Regions from separate parts of the Homo sapiens genome. Here region 2 is linked to region 1. The links are contacts of gene promoters, found by promoter capture Hi-C in blood cells and fetal thymus (Javierre and others, 2016). All regions are on one chromosome and are shown on one strand. The core of a region is centred on a gene start or on the middle of the fragment in contact, and the rest is flanking DNA. Distances in the headings are between cores, read along the strand shown. Region 1 holds the start of CREB1 (cAMP responsive element binding protein 1). Region 2 has its middle 21 kb from the start of MIR3130-1.

Evidence for each region. The method cuts DNA at HindIII sites, captures the fragments that hold promoters and counts their contacts. A CHiCAGO score of 5 or more calls a contact.
Region 2: a fragment that was not itself captured here is called in contact with the fragment with the promoter of CREB1 in region 1 in 16 of 17 cell types (M2 macrophages, naive CD4 T cells, total CD4 T cells and 13 more); the score reaches 16.4 in M2 macrophages.

Annotation. Positions count from the first base shown.
Region 1 is chr2:207,526,154-207,533,344 of GRCh38, reverse strand. CREB1 (cAMP responsive element binding protein 1) reads right to left here and starts at 3,383. Exons shown (of 8, transcript NM_004379.5): 1 at 3,211-3,383. LOC124907970 (a long non-coding RNA gene) reads left to right here and starts at 3,748. Exons shown (of 3, transcript XR_007088060.1): 1 at 3,748-3,909; 2 at 4,732-4,828. RefSeq lists enhancers at 665-1,164, 1,165-1,666, 3,255-3,354, 3,615-3,814 and silencers at 2,075-2,244, 2,955-3,004, 3,035-3,164, 3,835-4,014. The HindIII fragment of the contact is 5,804 bases long and covers 1-5,103 here.
Region 2 is chr2:206,800,361-206,807,551 of GRCh38, reverse strand. No RefSeq gene overlaps it. Among named protein-coding and RNA genes, the nearest start is that of MIR3130-1, 21 kb to the right of the region's middle. RefSeq lists an enhancer at 1-819. The HindIII fragment of the contact is 5,469 bases long and covers 1,534-7,002 here.

The sequences.
Region 1 (7,191 bases), core at 2,134-4,633:
TATGAAGAACCCAAAATTTCTAATAATGAGACCTAATCAAGAATATGAGTTTCAGAAAGTAGAAAAAGGTGCCATTTTTATGGATCAGGTGTCTAAGTTTCTTCAGGCTCTTTATGTAAACAAAAAAAAAATCATTCAAAACAGGTAACACTTAAGTTTTAAATTCCCAAAGAAGTGTTCTTTTAACATTCTTCAAGCAAACTCTGTCAAGTAATTTATTAGCTTTCTAAATGTAGGTGTTCATGAAAAAAAAAAAAAGATTCAAGCAGATCCAGCTGTAATTTTTATCCATGGCTGGAACAGTGCAGAAGTACAATTTAGTAACATGTTCCAGGTGAATGTTCAAGTATTAATGAATACAAGTTTGAAGTTTCACCTGGAATTGCTAAGAATCACAAATTATGAATGTATAAATAATAAAACAGGCCGGGCGCGGTGGCTCACACCTGTAATCCCAGCTACTCGGGGGGCTGGGGCAGGAGAATTGCTTGAACCCGGGAGGCGGAGCTTGCAGTGAGTGAGCCGAGACCAGCCCACTGCACTCCAGCCTGGGCAATAAGGGCCAAACTCCGTCTCAAAAAAACAAATAAATAAAAATAAAAATAAAAAATACAATTTAAAATATCTCTCGGGCAAGACTAAAGAAAGAACTTATCAGTAAACTTTTTTTTTTTTGAGATGGGGTCTCGCTGTCACCAGGCTGGAGGGCAGTGGCGCGATCTCGGCTCACTGCAATCTCCACCTCCTGGGCTCAAGAGATTCTCCTGCCTCAGCTACCCTAGTAGCTGGGATTACAAGCACGCGCCACGACACCCAGCTAATTTTTGTATTTTTAGTAGAGACGGGGTTTCACCATGTTAGCCAGGATGGTCTCGATCTCTTGACCTCGTGAGCCGCCTGCCTCGGCTTCCCAAAGTGCTGGGATTACAGATGTGAGCCACCGCACTCGGCCATCAGTGAACAATTTTTTAAAAATCTCACAAATGAAGAGTCATATATTCTTTCTTTTTTTTTTTTTTCTTTGAGACGGAGTCTTGCTGTGTCGCCCAGGCTGAAGTGCATGGCACGATCTCAATTCACTGCAACCCCAGCCCCCCGAGTAGCTGGGATTACAGGCGCGTGCCACCACACCCGGCTAATTTTTGTATTTTTAGTAGAGATGGGGTTTCATCATGTTGGCCAGGCTGGTCTTGCACTCCTGACCTCAAGTGATCCGCCCGCCTCGACCCCCCAAGTGCTGGGATTACAGGCCTCAGCCACCGCGCCCGACTTATATTCTTAACAAGAAAAAAAATTCTACTCTACTGATAGTGGCTTGCGGAACAACATAAAGGAAAAATGGTAAGCTACCATTATCAATACTATAATTTTTTCAGTGCTCGGAAATAAAATCATTTCCCCAATCTTTATAGAAAACCTGCCTTTATTGCCTCTTCTTAATTTTCTTGGAAATGACAAATTGCCAATGTGGTCTTTTAAAGAGAAGCAATACAGCAAAGCACGTTTTGGAAAAGTGACTAGAATACAGAAAAATAAGACAGTGCTTCTGCTGCCAATCAATATTTGTTCTTAACCAGAAGGTTTGTACGTATCAATCACAATGCAATCATACAGTGACAGACAAGTATTTTTAAAACAAACTTGTTCGTCTTTTGCACCACCTAAAATAACTGTTCGGGGCTTTACTTTTAAATCACGAAATGAGCCATAAATGTAAAAGATTTCAATAGGCAGCAATCAAAAGTATCTTCTACTAAACCTTCAGAAGTTAGACGCCAGCTGAGGTTAGAATTATAACTTGAGATGGTATTACAAACTTAAATAGGTCATACCGCACGTCCTTCAAAAACTGTCTTTTAATTTTTAATGTGTCAATGACTTTTCTGCTGTCCTCTTTTCCCAACAGGCGAAGAAAAAATACAGCTTGTGGCTTAAATTGTCAATCTCAAGACGGGGGTTACCTACTGCATGAGACAAATAATGGATACTTTAATGTCTATTTTTAGTAGTAGTATTAAATCAATCTCTCATTAAAGTTCACACAGAAATTCGTGGGAAATATGGTAGGGGGAGTGGGACGGAGGGTGAGGGGAGATCCAGATGACCCAAACGCGGTTGGCAAGGTTGCACCCCGCGAAATGATGTAAAACAAGAGTACATCGGCTGATACTCGTTCCAACGAAGTGTTTCAGAATGATAGATCTCAAGTGATGATTACCTTATTAAAAAGGGTTAAAACCGAAACTGTTTTCAAACACCAGCTTCCCTTTTATAAGATCCCAACAGTTTAAAAAGTTATTATAAATGTTTTTCTTAGCACCCTTTCTCCCAAAAAGCATGCATTTCCATGACTGACTTTAAAAAAAAAAAAAAAGCAAAGGGGTGAGGGAGTCAAAAATTCCCCCCAAAAGCACAAGCTCTCATCTCTCAACTAAGCAACACAGGGCAGAAAGCAGCATTTCCTCAACGGTGTAGGAGCGGGGGGGAAAGGGCACGAATAAAATACAGCACGAGAGGAAACCTTGGGTTTCGAACTTTATTGCACAAAGAGTGGAGAGAAGAGTAGGTCAGACGTTGCAGCTCTTCCCCTTGCGAAGCGGGCATGGCAGGCACCGAAGCCACCGGGAAGGCAGCAGGCACCTTCACCTCCTCTGCCCTCAACTGTCGCCTTCTTCCTCCTCCATCCCCCACCGGCACCTAGGCGGCGGCTGCCCCGGAGGCCCGGCCGGGTCGGGCCGGGGGCGAGGCGGGCGGCGGGGGCCGGACGAGCGAGCGGCGCGGGGGGCAGCGCCGGGCCGAGCGGGCGGCCTCCCCCGGGGCGGCTCCGGGTTCCCGGCTCCGCGCCCGGCCCGGCGGCGGCGGCGGGAACGCGGGCGCCAGCTCGCCGCGGCCGGCCGCCCGCACACACCCCCGGCCGCCGGCTCCCACCCCGCCCGCCGCCCGCCGCCCGCCGCCCCCCGCCATGAGCGCCGCCGCTGGCTGCAGGCAGAGTCGCTGCCGCCCCGGCCGCCGCTGGCTCCAGTCCGCCGCCATTATTCTTTGTTCGCTGCGAGCGGCGGCGATGTTGTGGGGCTCGGGCGGAGGCTCCATCTTTACCGCGGCCCCTCCTGCGAGGGGAAGGCCCCAAGCGCGGGTGTCCGGCGCCTCCCCGTCCCCCCTCCGTCCCCCCGGCTCTCTCTGGCTCCTGCCTCCTCCTCCTGCTCCTCTTACCGGTGGTACAAGCTCCTCCGTCACTGCTTTCGTTCACGGCCCGGATCTCGCTGGAGTTTTATTCTCTCCCCCACGTAACACACCGCGTCAAACTACACCTCCGCCGCGTCACTCACCAACACTCCGCTTCTCCCAGCCGCCCGGGCCACAGGCAGCAGCAGCCGCCGCCGACTGAGGAGCCGCAGCCAGGGAGCCAGCCAGCGCCGCCCAGTGCCGAGTGCGCAGCGGCCGCGCACGGAAACAGCCGAGCTAGGCCCGGAGCAGCTCGAGCGGCCCCGCCCCCGCGCTGGGGACGGAACTTGCCGAAGACCTTCGGGTTTCTTCGGGCGACGAGAAGGGGTTCCGCGGGGAGAGGGAAGGCGAAGGCGGGCTGAGCCCGGCGCCGGGAGGAGTGGTCTAAACTCCACCGCGGCTTTCGCATCGGTAAAGCCGGCAGCGGAAATTTGAAGGAGGAAGCGGGGTTTGTGTGTGGCCCAGTGGGGGAATTCCCGAGGGGTGTCGGCGACTTGGTGGAAACCCCCGCTCAGGCCTGCCCCTGCGGCGGTGAGCGGCGGGCTAGAAGGCGGCTGCGGCTGCCCTGGCTCTGCTCTTGACCGCCGCCAGCCCCGGGAACTTTCCGACGCCGCCGGGAGACGGGGGACGGGCAGCCCGGGCTGGGACGCGGCCGGACCGCTGGAGCCGTGCGGGCTGGGGAAGAAGGTCTGCTGCGCCTCTGCCAACGTCCCGGGGCCTGGGACCCGGGGGCGTCGTGGGACCCCCGTGGGGACGGGTTTTCCTTTCCGAGACTCCGCGGAGAAACCTGGCGGCCGCCAGCGGAGCATGCTTTTCCGGGGGGCGCTGGCCCCGATACTGTGGCACCTTGCGGGGCTCTGCCCGGACCATGGCTGACGTCGACGGCCCTCGGAGGCCTCCAAGCCACACAACCTGCCCGGACCCCTGGAAATATGCCCCATCCTACCTCCCCGCCTTTCTCCAGACAACATCCTGTGTCGCTTTCTTTCCTCAGCCTGTTTTCTACAGCAGGGATTCGCACCCACTGCACCCTAAACCCAGCAGGGGGACTTCCGTGGCTGGAAACTACTGAATTGTTCTTTCAGAGGTCTCTCAGGACGGCACCACTAGGTCCCCATTCTCCTTGATAGTGAACTCTGCAGCCCTCTCCTTGGGGTTTCAAGTCTTTTTTTTTTTTTTTTTTTTTTTAATGAGACGGAGTCTAGCCCTTGTCGCCCAGGCTGGAGTGCAGTGGCACGATCTCGGCTCACTGCAACCTCCGCCTCCCGGTTTCGAGCGATTCTCCTGCCTCAGCCTCCCTAGTAGCTGGGATTACAGGCACCTGCCACCACACCTGGCTAATTTTTGTGTTGTTAGTAGAGACGGGGTTTCACCATGTTGGCCAGGCTGGTATGGAACTCCTGACCTCAGGTAATCCACCCGCCTCGGCCTCCTAAAGTGGTGGGGTTACACGTATGAGCCACCGCGCCCGGCCTCAAGTCTTAATCATTCTTTTTCTGTCCTTTAAAGGAGACGTGTCTTTAGGAAGCAGAGAGGGTTCGATTCTGGACTCCGCCCATGACTCACTTCTCTTGTAAAGAAAGAGTTGTCCTTCCTGGTACTCCAGGTACCCTACTGTTTTCTTATGGACTTTGCCCTTAACGAGTCTCCTTTCCTTCTGTTACTCTCAACCTTTCCTTCTCTACCGGCTCTTTCTTACTGGTATTTAAACATGCTTAAGTCTTTCAATTCTTTAAAAAGATTTCTCTTCTCCCTAAATTGCTCTCCAACAACTGCAGCTGTCTCTTACCCCATGGACAGTCTTTCATGTCCCACCTCCCAGCCCTCTCCAGTGTCCCCACCGCTCACCTGAAGTGGCTCTGAATTGTCCACAGACAAGCTTCATGACTGTAAATGCAGCGGATCATTTTCAGTCCTCATTTTACAAGCCCTCATCCCAGTATTTGACGCGATTGACCACAGTTGCTTCCAAATACCCTCTTCCCTCTGGTCTTATGTCCCAGGTTTCCTCCCTACCTGAGTTTGCTCTTTAACAACCAGCTCCTCCTTGATCTACCTCTTACACATTGGAATCATGCTGAGCTGAACCCTGGCCCTCTTACTGAGTCTCCCCATACACTTTCCTAGGTGGTCTTATGCTCTCCCAGCAGCATCAAATACCCTCTGTCAAAGACTCTTCAATCCATAACTCAAGCCTAGATCTTGCTCTGGAATCCTACATTCATAGTTCCCAGCATACTGCCTTTGGTACACTTTCATTTGGATGACTTAGGGCATTTCAAACTCAACCCGTATATCATAATTCCTTCAAAACGCTCCTCCCATAGTCCCTGGTTCAGTAAAGGGTATCTTAACATCTACCCAGTTCATGCCAGAAACCTAGCACACCTCCAACACACAGCAGAATCACCTACATCTGTCTGCTCCCTGGAAAATTGGATTTGTGACCTCTCTCTGTTCCCATGACCATTTTTTCATTCCCATTCTAGTCTAAACCACTGTTGCCTCTTGCTTGAAGTCCCACAGTAACCCATTCAGGTCCTCCAAAACTGCTCTTGCCTCGTTCCAATACATTTGCCATACTGCTGCCAGAGTAATTTTTTAAATATAAATCTGATCATTGACCTGCTTAAATTCCTCCAGTGGTCTCCCTTTGCTTACCACACATTGTCTAAGCTCCATTATCTGTACTTGTCTTTCTCTCCAGCCTCTCCATCTGTCCCCCTAGCTGCCTGCACTCCTGCCATAGTATTTTAATTTTTTCCAGGCTCTCCTCTTTTTATTCCCTACTGTAGGCTCTCACTTCAGGGCATTTACACATGCCCTTCCCTTCCCCTGGAATTTTTTTCTGTCACCCATTCCTCCTACTTAACTGTAACTTATCACTTTCTTTTCCAATTCCTACTTCTCATTATTTGTTTAGTGTCCATGTAATTGTGCAGGTAAGGACCACGTCTGTCTTGTTCACTACCAGCTTTTCCTCTCCCTAGCAACAGCACAATGTCTAGAATATAGTGGTACTTGTTAGGTATTTATCGAATAAATAGTGAATTTCTGAGTGGTCCCGGGCAAAGTTTTCTCAACATTTGAATTCAAATCCTGGCTCTCAGTGAGTTCAGGTTGCCGTAGTAAAGTACCATATAGACTGGTGGCTTATAAACAACAGAAATGTATTTCTCATAGCTCTGGAGGCTGGATATCTGAAATCAGGCTGCCAACATGGTCAGGTTCTGGTGAAGGCCCTCTTCAGGGTTGTAGATGGCTGTTTTTTCCCTTTACCTCACAATGCAGAAAGAGAGCAAGAGCTCTCGGGTTGCTTTTATAAGGCACTAATCCCATTCACAAGGGGTTTACCTCCCAAAGGCCTCATCTCCTAATACCATCACATTGAGGGTGAAGATTTCAAAAATACGAATTTGCAGGAGACAGGGGTGGGGGTGAATTCATTGCACTGGCTCAGCCACTTATTAGCTAATGACTTTGGGCAAATTGTTCACTCTTGTGCCTCAGTTTTCCCATCTGTAAAATAAAGATGATAATAGCACCTCATAGTGTTATTGTAATGATTACGTGACATAATACATGTGAAGTATACTTGGAACAATGTTAGGAAAAATGTTGCCTATTACTAGCTTTTACTTGGATAGCTTATCCTCGTGTCAAATACGTTTTCAAAATTGAGTTCATCTTCCTGCTCTTCTTACCGTGGCTCTATACATGATATCAAAAAACTTTGGAATTATTTACTCATAACCTATAATTATCACCCACCAAATATGGTGAGTTTTTATTTAAAAATGTCCTCATATTCATTCTTCCTTTTTATATACACTAACCTTCATTTAGACTCTATTATCATTGATTATTTTGCTAACTTCCTAGGTGTCTTCTAACTGGAGGCTAGCTTTCCCTATTCATTTGGGCCCTTACTGTCAGACCAGTGGGCCTCAAACAATTATTAAAACATAT
Region 2 (7,191 bases), core at 3,019-5,518, 730 kb after region 1:
AAACCGTATCCAGGCCATCACCAATCATTCTATACGACAAATGTTTCTTCTAACAACCCCACAATATCACCCCTTACCACAAGACCTCCCTTCAGCTTAATCTCTCCCACTCTAGGTTCCCACGCCGCCCCTAATCCCGCTTGAAGCAGCCCTGAGAAACATCGCCCATTCTCTCTCCATACCACCCCCCCAAAATTTTCACCGCCCCAAAACTTCAACACTATTTTGTTTTATTTTTTTTATTAATATAAGAAGGCAGGAATGTCAGGCCTCTGAGCCCAAGCCAAGCCATCGCATCCCCTGTGACTTGCAGGTATACGCCCAGATGGCCTGAAGTAACTGAAGAATCACAAAAGAAGTGAATATGCCCTGCCCCGCCTTAACTGATGACATTCCACCACAAAAGAAGTGTAAATGGCCGGTCCTTGCCTTAACTGATGACATTACCTTGTGAAAGTCCTTTTCCTGGCTCATCCTGACTCAAAAATCACCCCCACTGAGCACCTTGCGACCCCCCACTCCTGCCTGTCAGAGAACAAACCCCCTTTGACTGTAATTTTCCTTTACCTACCCAAATCCTATAAAACGGCCCCACCCTTATCTCCCTTCTCTGACTCTTTTCTGACTCAGCCCGCCTGCACCCAGGTGAAATAAACAGCCATGTTGCTCACACAAAGCCTGTTTGGTGGTCTCTTCACACGGACGCGTGTGAAAACCAACATGGAGAAACCCCGTCTCTACTAAAAATACAAAATTAGTCGGGCATGGTGGTGCACGCCTGTAATCCCAGCTACTCAGGAGGCTGAGGCAGGAGAATCTCTTGAATCCGGGAGGCGGAGGTTGCGGTGAGCTGAGATCACACCATTGCACTCCAGCCTGGGCAACAAGAGCAAAAGAAACTCTGTCTAAAAACAAACAAAAAAGAGGAGTCCTGAATTGTTTAAATAAGGGAGAAGAATAACATTGATAACATTGTCAGATCTGGGTTTTAGGCAGAACCTTTTTATGGGTAGCAGAGACGACCAAAACAAGTACAAGTAGTCAATCAAAAGTCACCGATATGTCCAACAAGAGAGCCTGCTCTCCCCAGGACAGAGTGAAAGCCCAGTGGCCTCACAGGCACGAGTGTCTGGGAGCACTGCAGGAAGGAAGTCAGAATCCACTGGACTCCACAACTTCCTGATGAGTGAGAAAAATTCTGGAAAACTGTCAGCATTCTCTCAGAAGGTGAGCATACCGATTGCAGAGTATTTCTACCTTTCCAAGCTTGGCAATAGTACAAAAATGAGGTCGATTCTCTTCACTCTGTGTAACTCACACCACCAGATGCTGATGCCCTTAGACTCTTTCACAGCTACAGTTCCCCAAATCATTTATATCCAGAGGTCAGGCATATGGAGCTCATTAAATTCCATACAGCAACATTGTAACCATGTGAAACTTTTTGTTTGCAGTGCAATTTAATGTTGAATTTGATTTATGAGGCACTGCACATTCTTAGTCCTAGGATGACAGCATACACTTCTACAAGCTTAAGTCATGGTTTGGGGCAAGGGGGAAGGCCTTTGACCAGATGTTGGAATTGGAAATCTGGGCTTATGCTAAGCATTTGCGAAGAAGGGAGAGCACCACATCTTAGAGAAGGTCTATCCCAACTTGACTGTTATATCACTGAGGAAACCAAGACCTAGAGAATTTCTTTTCCTTTTTCTTTTCTTTTCTCTCTTTTTTTTTTTTTTGAGACAGGGTCTCCCTCTCTTGCCCAGGCTGGAGTGCAGTGGTGCGATCATGGCTCGCTACAGCTTCAACCTCCCAGCCTCGAGCAATCCTCCCACCTCAGCCACCTGAGTAGCTGGGATTACAGATGTATGCCACCAAGTCCAGCTAATTTTTGTATTTTTTTTGTAGAGACAGGGTTTCACGATGTTGTCCAGGCTGGTCTCGAACCCTTGGGCTCAAGCAATCTGCCCACCTCTCAAAGTGCTGGAATAACAGGCATCCTAGAGAATTTAAATGACAGAGGCAGTGGCTGGAACCCAGGTCTCCTGATTCTCAGCCCAGTGGCCCTCCTTCTCTCTCCCTTGCCTCTCTACTATTCAAAATACAAAAATGAAGAGAAAATGGGCCTTTCTTATTCATGCGGAAATTCATTCCAACTTGACAGAAAGGTACCCATGTAAAATGTATTGTTAACTTCATATCCTAGTATATAAATAAGAGAAAATCAATAAAGCATTTGTTTGAAAATGACTTGCTTTCTGTTTGGTTGGTACAAAGTTATATCATATATGATATATGGCTCTGGAATCAAATCTAAAAATTTAAATTACTTGCTCAAAGCCACATGGCTGATAAGTCTAAGTCTGAATTTTTTCATCTATAAAGTGGGCATTAATAATACTTACCCCAAAGTTGAAGTGTTTCATTTAATCAACCTTTGAGGAAAATGCTTAAAAGATAGTGGCTATTGTTGTATTTTATGTGGTATCTGTTGGTTTGGGCTTCAAATACTCTTCCCGGGAGACATGCCGTACACTTATTCCCATGATGCTGTCATTGTTCAAAATATTTGGATGCACTTTTCTTCTGGAACTGCCTTCTGAGTTAGTTCTTATCTGAAGAGAAAAATTAACTCTTCATGCCTATATTTAATCAAAAGGAATGTAACTTAGTTTTATCAACTTCATTCACCAAAGCTAGCTGGGAGGTACTTTTAACCATTTGTTTAAACCAAAGCCAGATACAAAAGATGAAGATTTGCCATGATTGAGAATTTGCCCACAAAATTTTGCTTCCTTAAGTGAAGGGGATACATATTTTACTTGCTGGACCGAGCTCAGAAACCTTGGGAAAGTCATAAGCCACGGAACCAAACCCTGTTCCAGAGCTGAGAAGGTGGAAAACGGGTGTGTGGATGACTCAAGGTCAGCCCTTGGGAAGCTGGAATTCTCTGGAACTTCTGAGAAAGAAAGACAGCCTCTCAGAAACAATTACATGGGAATTTTCACAAGCTGGGAAGATCCCTGTAGCTCTAACCAGGATTTGTTCTCATTCTGTGGGAGGAATGGAAGGAAAAAGAAGTCTTTGAGAGCCCTAAGCTCCTGAACTTGAATGCAAAGCAGGCTTTGGAAGTCAGAAGAGCACTGGGCCACTCCTATCTCGTCCTTGTTCAGGATAAATGTACCCCCTATACCATGCGTTTCCCCCAACACACACCACACACACACACACACACACACACACACACACACACACACACACACACACACCACTAAAGAATAGACTTCCTGCCTCTGTGCTCTACCAGAAACTTTCAGCATCTAGGGTTAGCATCTTGCCTTCCATTTGCACCTCAAACATTTCATTCTTCACGTTGTTATCATTATCACCCTATCATTACACTGCTGGTTAATCATGATTAAAACAATAAACAAATAATTTTTCCCTGGTGAGCATAAATAATTGCAGATGAATACATATTGTTCGGGCCCATGTAACATTATATGCTATTACAGACAGTATGAGAGGATGTTTTATTGTAAGAGATAATTTTTCCTAATTGTAATGTTTACTCCCTTCAGATTCTAACCTTCTGAAGGCCCAACAAAGTCACCTAGAGGGAGTTTGCAGCTCTTGCCTGCAGTTTAGGGAAAAGTGGCTTTTCTACTTGGTGATAACTCTAAAGTGAAAATGTGAAACCAAGTGGAAGAGGCCAGGGGGTGCTTTTTCTACCAGATGTTAAAAGAAAAAGAACACGCAGGATCTAAACTCTAGAGTGAGCCTCACTGCTGGGGGTGACAGAGCAAGAAGAAATCCAGGGGTTCATTCGATTAACTTGGAAGGCTCTTACTAGGGGACACTAGTTTATTGAACAGGCTGGGTCAGTAGCTCCAGCAGGCTGGAAACAGCTCCATCTTCTTCCCTCCCTTGCCCATCACACTGGCTCTGCCAGCTCTCCCTTCCCACCTCAGAGAGGCCATCTCCGGCATATGCCAGAGTATTTTTGGTTGCACATGGCTATTAGCAGAGCCTCATTTTAAGGTATTAAAAAGCTCATCACCTGATCTATTCTCAAAATATGCAGCTCTCACCCAATCTAAGATTCCTTCCTTTCTTCCAGCTCAGTAATGAGCAGCAGGGGGAGGAGGCTGTGGAATCTTCTTTTGCTGTTTGCCCCCCTTGCTCTGTTTTCTGCTCCTCCTGCCCCGCTCACTGTGCTGCCTCTGGCATCTCCAGGGCCAGGTGGGGAGGAGGGACTAGAGGTAAATGGGTCTATTCACTGGTGACCTTGCAGTCTGCGAGGATGCCCTTTGTGTGCTAGATGCTCAAGTGCTGGCTCCTCCTCACATGAGTGACTTTTGTGGGTTCTTAAGAGACACCCCTACTCCCACCTCTCTTTCCATGGCGTGTCTTTCTTACACCACAGCATTCCCTGACCTGACCCCCACAAGGCACTCTCAGGCTGACTGTGAAGACCCCATACAGCCTCTTTTTGCTGAGATTTCTGAGCTTTGGCAGGACGTCCTCTAGGACAGGTGCCTTTCAGGATGACTCAAGCCTGCTAGTTTCTTCAGCATTCGTTTAATCCACAGGAAATATTATGCATCCATGCCATCCCTTCTCCCCTGCAAAACTTGGAAGCCAAAAGCCTTCTTACAGCCACCTGTTTTTGCTCTGCCATCAGCAGCAGCTCCAGGCAGCCTTCTGCCTTTGGGCTTTTCCAGGCAAGAGTCAGGCTTCTATCTCCAGTCACCTTCCCACACCTCCTACTCTCACCTCGCACTCCCACCCCCGACCAATGTTTGAAGGGTCTACATCAAGCTCTCAAAGGAACTTGGAGTCCAGGCTTCTGGGTGTCACTTCATGAGTTGTGCCTCTACCCCACTGAGTGAACAAATCTAAGCCACCGAACATACCCTGTGGGATTGGGGTTATGCCCCCACCCTTCCTCTCCATACACTGGGCCCCATGCATGGCAGGTGGCTCTGTTAAAGATTACTGACCATTTTTCTCTTGAGACTATTGTAGCTTTTACAGCGCTAAAAATTTTAAGCATAACACCCTTCTCTACCATCATCTTAGGCAATTTACAGAGATAAATTTATGATTTTGCATCTATAGCACATGAAGTATGGATTTTTAAAGATTCATTAGAATATATAATTCTCACATAAAAACATTTATACTCATAAACAGTATTTCCATAAAGATGATCTCATTAGATATAAAGTTTATCTCTGGTGAATTAAAGTTAATCCTGAAAATCTTGTCAACCACACATAATATATGGTACCTAATGTATCTGATACATTCTGAAACAGATAAGTGGATGAAATATTTTTAAAGCACCACATCTAGTAAGGCAGCAGAGAATTAGAAACGGATTTTATTTCTTGTTCTTCAATATAGTAATTGGTGACCTTGAGAAATGCCATTTAACCTTTTCATGTCTCAATTTTCTCATCTATAAATAGATATAATCATCACAAAGACCCGCTGTGAGCAATAGATGAGATAATCTTGAGAGCTCTAAAGCTCTACATATAACAGAAAGGCATTATTGGGATTAGGGCAGAGGATCTGCAGCTCTGCTGTTGCCTTGAACAATTTCCATGATTCTGTGACTCACTTTTACTACCTGCAAAATAGACACCGGAAGGCGTCTCTCCAGTTTTCCTTAGAAGGCAGAGTCTGTATAAGAGAAAAAAGCTGATTTCAGGGTCCAGCAGATTTAATTAGCTGCACAACCATGGGCCAACTCTCGAGTGTTAGAGAGGATAATGATGACTACCTCACAGGGTTGTGAGAATCAAATGTCTTAAAGGAGAACAGTGCTTAGTAAATAGCTAACAGTGCTCAGCCTGTACAATTGTTAGAATCAATATTGGGTTTCCACTGAAAATTACCATGGGGTTACCTTGCCGTTTACTGCCTAGGTCCAGTCATTTCTGAATAAGATTAGTTGCTATGGTTACCTTCCCAAAACACCACAGTTGAAAACGTGTTGGAGATGGGAATCGATGGTAGGAGGCTTTAGCGGAGGACACAAAGCAACTTCAGCCACTGAGACATTTTAATACATGTAAACTCCTTCCCTTGGAAACCTAAGTCACATTTTGCCAAAATGGAAATGAACTCAGGAAGTGGACTTTCAGAAGTTCTGCATTTGGCCAGCCTCCTTCCCCCATCACCAGGCCCTCAAGGACAGGTGCGTTCTGGCCCTGAACCAGCTCCAGAGCATCTCAGTTTCTTACCCCAGGATCTGGCAGTTGGAAAGATGTTGGTTGCCAGGCAGAATTCATCAGATTCACTTCCCAGATGCTATCGCTTCTGATGCCGAAAGAAAAATAGGTTGCCCAGCAATTGAGGTTGGAAAGGACAGGTGTAGCTGAGAAATGCACAGTGTTGCACAGAAAACAATAATGGGTTATTTTTGTTAAAATTCATTAGCATGCATATTTGTATATTCCAGGGGTCCTCACATCCCGCAAACATACTTAGTCTCTGGAGGGGCTAGCACTAACATCCCCGGTTAAAGTGTCCCCCACAGGAGTGTTATAAATGGTATTTGATCTGTCAGAATCAGTCACAGCTCCAACAGCTCTCAGCAAATGAATACAAGTTGGTCTGACCCTGCTTCCTGTTTCCAACTAAAGCAAACCGAAGACCTGAAGAGGCCTCACAGGCAAGAGTATTTTGCACCCGCTCCTAGTGAAAAGACTCTTTTCTGCCTGGTCTTTTTTCCCAGACATCCCAAGGAGCTGTCCTGCTCTTATTTGAAATTCAAACCAGAAGGAAGTCACCTCCGCAAATGCCAAGTGTCCAGCCTCCACTTCCATGATGATTCAGCACCACCTAGGGGCCATTGTCATTCATTTCTTGCCAGGCTCATTTCTTGCCATATTCATTTATTGCCACAATAGAATTCCTTTTTAAGTATTGCAGCTGCACCCGCCACCGCCCCCTCGCCACTGCCATCCACATAAGAAAAGTACAGAAGCTTCTCTACACACATTTTTCAAGACTCGGTTCCAGATCTACTTCAGCTGGAAACTCTGGTCCACTAGCTTAGCACACAAGGATCACTGCTGAGGAGTGTGGTTCACATTTACAATACACCACGGGGACTTCGCTTTATTATTATAAGAACTGCTATAAGCATCTACTACATGACAAGGCATATATAGTTAT